2 separate regions of the Homo sapiens genome follow, and region 2 is linked to region 1. Evidence: promoter capture Hi-C in 16 types of primary human blood cells and fetal thymus (Javierre and others, 2016). All regions are on one chromosome and are shown on one strand. The core of a region is centred on a gene start or on the middle of the fragment in contact, and the rest is flanking DNA. Distances in the headings are between cores, read along the strand shown.

Region 1 (3,486 bases), core at 549-3,048:
ATGGAGGAAGGCCACGGTCTGCTGCCTGCCCCTGGGAACTGAATGTCTTGGTATAAAACCTGATTGTACCTTTGTTCAATTCTGAAATAGGAGAAAAACCGCCCTATGGTGGGAGGCGAGACATGTTTGCAGTAATGCTGACTTGTTATTCTTTACTCCGCTGAGATGTTTGGGTGGAGAGAAACATAAATCTGGCTTACGTGCACGTCCAGTCATAGTACTTTCCCTTGAACTTAATTATGACATAGATTCTATTGCTCACATGTTTGTTGCTGACCTTCTCCTTATTATAACCCTGCTCTCCTACTACATTCCTTTTTGCTGAAATAATGAAAATAATAATCAATAAAAACTGAGGGAACTCAGAGGCCGGTGCCGGTGCAGGTCCTTGGTATGCTGAGCGCCGGTCCCCTGGGCCCACTGTTGTTTCTCTATACTTTGTCTCTGTCTTATTTCTTTTCTCAGTCTCTCGTCCCACCCGACTAGAAATACCCACAGGTGTGGAGGGGCAGGCCACCCCTTCATAAAGGACACAAGAGGACTCACTCCAGGTATCATTGTGCCCTCCTTTCCCCAAGCATACACCCAAAGCAGTCTTCTCTACTATTTAAAATCAGGACATTAAGTGAACAGAACAGCTCTGTAGGCACAGTCACCACCCTAGTTTAAACCACTTATGTCTCTCTCCTAGATACACAATGGTGCCTCCAATTTCTGAAGTCTGTAGCTAAACTGACCTTTTCAAATACAAACAGAATCCTTTCATATTTCAACTGAAAACATTCCACTGGTCCTTTATTACTTTATGGAAGCAATTCTCAAATCTTACCTTGCATTATAATCACCTGGAGGTCTTGGTAAAAGATTGCCTGGGCCACATCCCCAGTTTCTGACTCAGTAGGGCTGGTTTTTTCCTAAGTTCCCAGATGATGCTGCTGGCCTGCGGACTGTACTTTGTGAACCTATGCTTTAAGGAAAACAAAGCAAAAAGATCCATTAAGATCTAGTCCAAGTTTTTTGCCTAGCTCCCATCATGTCACATATCACAGTTATGTGATTTTACAGCTACTCTGCAATTCTTTACCTAACTGTAAAAACCCCTCACCAGGCAGCAAGCTTCTTGGTGGCAATACGTCTCTAGCTTGTTTGAGGAATAAATAAAACCTGTGGTAGATTCCAAGCTCTCAGTTTCAACCATCATCATACTGGCTGATTCTTAACATGCCTGCACCTAAAGCGCCTCATCTACAAAGTTGAAATGATAATTCGTACCTGTAAGACCCTTGTGAGGATTACAGGATGCTTACATAGGTCGAGGGTGCAGACGACGTAGGCTGGTGGGTTCTCAACTGGCAGCTACCACTTCGCTCCCTTAACTCCCCAACCCCCACTCCCAAACACGTACATTAACTCTTTGAAGATAACATAGCCACTTCATAAACCCTAATTCAGATCATAACATTTAAAGCTTAATTGATACAGGCTCAACACCCCCATTCTAACTCTACAATCCTGAATTTTTCACAAGAGCTACGCCAGACACTAAGGAGATCCAGTCGTGGGCAGGCAGCGACCCGGAGGTTTAGGCACAGAGAATGTTCAAGAAGCCCCTGTCCAGTTAAGCCTCCTGGCGAGGCCCTTCTGGGCCTTTCCTGCGGCCTTCCCAGCTCACCTGGAGCAGACGGATCAGCAAATCCGGCCAAAGAATACTCAGGACCCACCGAGCCCCCGCGAGGAAGGACTCATACCCCAACCCCACCAAGTGGGCTGCTTCCTGCCTGGGGCTCAGCCTGCGCGGTGGTTGGCAGTTGCCCCGGAAGTGGGCGGGAAGGACCTGCGCATGCTCTGTGACCCTGGGTGCAGGGATTGTGTGAAGATTGAGAGCTGGGGGCGCCCTCTTCCGTGATCAGGGCCCCGTTGGCCCCAACTGGCATTTAATTCCCCTGGCTGTCTTTTCGGATTCTTATCACTTTTTATGTATATGAGTAAACTTGAGGGTCCAAGTAAGTCTGCAAGTTGGTTTTAAAAGCTTCACCAGCACAGCGTCCCCTCCCAGATGGTGAGGGAGTGGAGAGCTTTGCAGGGTCAACTGCTTCCCGTAGCCTGGGGTCGCAGGGTGGAGTCGTTGAGCACTCCCTATGCTTGAAAGAGGAATAGAAGCCCCTTTGGATTAGTTTGCATCTCAGTGGGTGAGTGGGTGGATCTCTCCCACCCTGTGGGATTGTGCCCTACCCTATGAACTCAGGTTTACCTGAGGAAGTGACATTTCAGGCGGAATTTGAGGGATGAAGAGGCATTCGTTGGATCAATTCCACGGTCAAAGTCTTCAAGGCTGGAAGAAGAGCCAATGTGGAGCCTCTCAACTTTAAAGAATTTAGTACAGGCCGGGCATAGTGGCTCACACCTGTAATCCAAGCACTTTCAGAGGCAGAGGTGGGAGGATCGCTTGAGGCCAGGAGTTCAGGACAAGCCTAGGTAACATTGCCAGACCCTGCGTCTACAAAATATTTTAGAAATGATTTTTTTTTCTTTTAATAAGAGACGGAATCTCTCTTTCGCCCAGGCTGGAGTGCAGTGGCGCGATCTTGGCTCTCTGCAACCTCTGCCTCCCAGTTTCAAGCAATTCTCCTGCCTCTGTCTCCCGAGTAGCTGGGTCTATAGGCGCACGCCGCCACGCCTGGCTAATTTTTTGTTGTTGTATTTTTAGTAGAGACGGGGTTTCATCGTGTTGCCCAGGCTGGATTCGAACTCCTGAGATCAGGCAATCCGCCCGCCTCGGCCTCCCAAAAGTGCCAGGATTACAGGCGTGAGCCACCTCACCCAGCCAGAAATGATAATTTTATTTTTATTTTTATTTTTTTTTTGAGACGGAGTCTCGCTCTGTGGCCCAGGCTGGAGTGCAGTTGCGTGATCTCGGCTCACTGCAAGCTCCGCCTCCCGGGTTCACGCCATTCTCCTGCCTCAGCCTCCAGAGTAGCTGGGACTACAGGTGCCTGCCACCACGCCCAGCTAATTTTTTGTATTTTTAGTGGAGACGGGGTTTCACCGTGTTAGCCAGGATGGTGTCGATTTCCTGACCTCGTGATCCGCCCGCCTCGGCCTCCCAAAGTGCTAGGAGTACAGGCGTGAGCCACCGCGCCCTGCCTAGAGATGATAATTTTTAAAAACTTGGTACAAAAGGAACTGAAAGAGGTCATTTGGTTGGCACTACAACGTGGGAAATTGCAAGAAGTATAAAATATGGAAAATGGCTTTGTGAGGCTGATGAGATAGGCGAGAATGAATGCTGCAAGGCCCTTTAGGCAAAATTGAGGATATTGGTTTTTATCAAATGCAAAGAAAAGCCAGTGAAGCATTTTAAACATGAAGTACTAAGATTTGAATTGTGGAATAAAGACCCGTCGATGCCTTTAATATATCCTAGAAAGGGTGTATGGTGGACAGTTGAATAGAGGTGTGACCTAGACAAATCAACCGATAAAGCAA
Region 2 (3,211 bases), core at 119-2,618, 200 kb before region 1:
CTCATTCTTCTCCAAAATCAACATTAAGCACAAAACAAAAGTTTAATACACACCTCTAATAATATACAAAATGATTTGATAGTACCAGCACACATTTAGGGAGTTATATGTGATGACTCGATGAAAAATTTATTCCCTTGGTACACAATTTGGGTTGTCTGCAAAATAAGAACTGACGATATCTATAGCACAAAAATAATATTTTGAGTGTTCACTGTCTGCCAAGCACTTAACATATTTAAGCCTCCTTTCATCCCTATGACCACATTGTAAAGCAGGGAAGTAATGCTATGTCTACTTTGGAGATAAGGAAAATGAAATTCCCAGAAGCAATGTGCCCAAGGAGAGGAAGAGGCAGGAAGAGCTCGGTGAGCATGATCATGGCTCAGGTTCTCCATCCACATGCCTAAGACAGGGGTGAGTGTGAAGATGGGAACTGACTCAGAATTAACTGTGTGATCATGGGCAAGTTGCCAAGTTAACCCTCATATCTAAATTCAGGTATCCTTGAACAAACATAGACAGATACTGATGATCCGCCATGTTTACTATAACCATAAACTCTTTGTGAATTAAAAATGGCCTCTCAACCTGGAAAAAATGTAAAATAATATTGAGAATGGAATCCACTAAACAGGAAAAAAAAAAAAAACTCCAGCGCATCAGCTACATCTTTTTCAACTGAGGGTTTCTTTAACTACCTTAAAGTTGTGTTTGTAATTAACTAGGTTTGATTGAACATAAATTAAATGTCTTTTGGTCGCAGAGAAGTTCAACATTCGGGTATGTATGCCTAAAACACTGTAGTCTTAGAGAATGTCATGAAGACTGTGTTCATTTCTAATTCTTCAGTAATTAGAGGTGGGTTTACATTTTGGTCACCGCAGCTATTTCCGTAGCGTGTGGCTAAACTATTGGGCATGCTGAGCTAATACTTCACAACATAGTTCTGCGGGTGCCAAAGGCCACAGGCACCAAGGTTTCCAGTTAAATTGTTAGGAAAAAAATGCCAAAATGTCTGGATCCTGAATTGGAAGCTTCTGCTTCTTCTTCGTAAAAGTGAGGAAAGCCCCTATTAGCAAAAGACCAAACTGAGATTAGTGGCCAATCTGTAGACTTTCTATTATTTCACATAGTTTTAAAGTTATTTTTCTGCAAATTTTTGTCATGGAAAAGTCAGCAATTTTTTTTTGCAATTTTTCTGTTATCTCTGAATACAATGACTCTTCTGCCTTTATAAACCAAATTGTCCAAAATTAAGAAGACATGGCCATAAGTGAGACTGAGGTCTTCCTATTTATCTCAACTGAAAGCCACAAACTTGCATGGAATGAGACTGTTCATTATTTACCAGGGCAAATTTCAGGCTTGTTTTAAATGAAATCAAAATATCCTCTCTGCATCAATGTTCCTGACACACATATTTAGGGATATAGAGGAATCAATAAAGTTATGCTTTAAAAGAAGGATTATTAATCTATTTAATATGGATTGTTAGAGGTGGAGACAGCAAATTTTGAGAACAGGCAACAAACTGGTTTTTTGGCATGTCTTAGAAGTAATTGCAGCAGCCAGCCAGTAGACGGCAATGTTTGACAAACACCCGAATCCAAGAAAAATAATTTTGCTCTGTTGTGTCCCGGTGCTGCCTGTGTAAAACTAATTTCACACCAGCCACCATGCTAAACACTGGGAATGCCAAAGCTTTGTCTTTTTCCCCAGTGAACTGTGAGCAATGCATGCAACTCTTCCAGATAATCCCTTAATCATATTTAAAAATAGGAATAGTGGCCGGGCGCGGTGGCTCACACCTATAATCCCAGCACTTTGGGAGGCCAAGGCGGGTGGATCACAAGGTCAGGAGATCAAGACCAGCCTGGCCAACATGGTGAAACCCCGTCTCTACTAAAAATACAAAAAATTAGCCAGGCGTGGTGGCGCATGCCTGTAGTCCCAGCTACTCGGGAGGCTGAGGCAGGAGAACTGCTTGAACTCGGGAGGTGGAGGTTGCAGTGAGCCGAGATTGCGCCACTGCACTCCAGCCTGGGTGACAGAGCGAGACTCCATCTCAAAAAACAAACAAAAAACGAATAGCTTCTTCTCTTTTTCTCAAAATCCATGTAGTAGGCAGGGGCCTAGGCCAGGTGTGTCCTGAAGGCCTTTGTAGATCAATGAATCCTAATACTGGTAAACTGGATTATTTTAAAATAGAAGCTGTAAAAGGATCAGTAGCTCTACAATGAGGAAGAACAGAATGAATGCCTACAAAGGCATTAATAACTGTGTGTATTATCAAACACTGTTTTTATAATACTATTTTTGAAATCTCAGAAAATGTGCATTAAATTCTAAAATTCTAAAAATTAGCCAAAACCAGACAAACCTAAAACCATAATGGGATACTACTACACATCTATTAGAATGACTAAAATTTAAATATATATACTACTTTTTTTAATTTTTATTTTTCTTAAAGACAGTGACTTGCTGTGTCACCCAGGCTAGGTAAAGTGGCACAATCATAGCTCACTGAAGCCTCAAACTCCTGGGCTAAAGCAGTCCTCTTATTTCTGCCTACTAGTAGCTAGGACTAGAGGCACATGCAACCACACCCGGCTATTTTTTAATTTTGGTACAGACAGGGGTCTTGCTATGTTGCCCAGGCAGGTCGCAAACTCCTGGCCTCAAGCAATTGTCCCACCTCCACCTCTCAAAGTGCTGGGATTACAGGTGTGAGCCACCATTCCTGGCCCTACATATACTACATTTACATACACACACACACACACACACACACACACACAATACCAAGTACTGCTGAAGATGAAGAACTACTGGAATTCTCATATGTTGCTGGTGGGAACGCAAAATGGTACAGCCAGTTTGGAAAGCAGTTTGGAATTTCTTACAAAGATAAAACATATGCTTACCAAAGGACCAAACAATCCTACTCCCAGTACTTACCTTCACTCAAGAACATTTACACAAATGTTTATACCATTATTCACAATTGCCAAAAAATGAGAACAGCCCAAATGTCCTTTAGCAGGTAAATGAATAAACAGACTCTAATACATTTATAAACCAGAATATTATTAAGCAATAAAAAAGAAACAAACTATTGATACATGCAACAATATGAATGAATCTCAAATGTGTTTTGCTAAGTTAGTGTTTCTCAACCTCATTATTGTTTTAGGCCAGATCATTC

What was found. The method cuts DNA at HindIII sites, captures the fragments that hold promoters and counts their contacts. A CHiCAGO score of 5 or more calls a contact.
Region 2: a fragment that was not itself captured here is called in contact with the fragment with the promoter of TRIM61 in region 1 in 1 of 17 cell types (megakaryocytes); the score reaches 5.6 in megakaryocytes.

What each region holds. Positions count from the first base shown.
Region 1 is chr4:164,975,859-164,979,344 of GRCh38, forward strand. It overlaps TRIM61 (tripartite motif containing 61), which reads right to left and starts at 1,799. Exons shown (of 3, transcript NM_001414904.1): 1 at 1,673-1,799; 2 at 830-967. RefSeq lists enhancers at 1,908-1,987, 2,018-2,077. The HindIII fragment of the contact is 561 bases long and covers 1,467-2,027 here.
Region 2 is chr4:164,778,357-164,781,567 of GRCh38, forward strand. All of the region lies in intron 2 of SMIM31 (small integral membrane protein 31), which reads left to right. Among named protein-coding and RNA genes, the nearest start is that of SMIM31, 26 kb to the left of the region's middle. The HindIII fragment of the contact is 667 bases long and covers 1,036-1,702 here.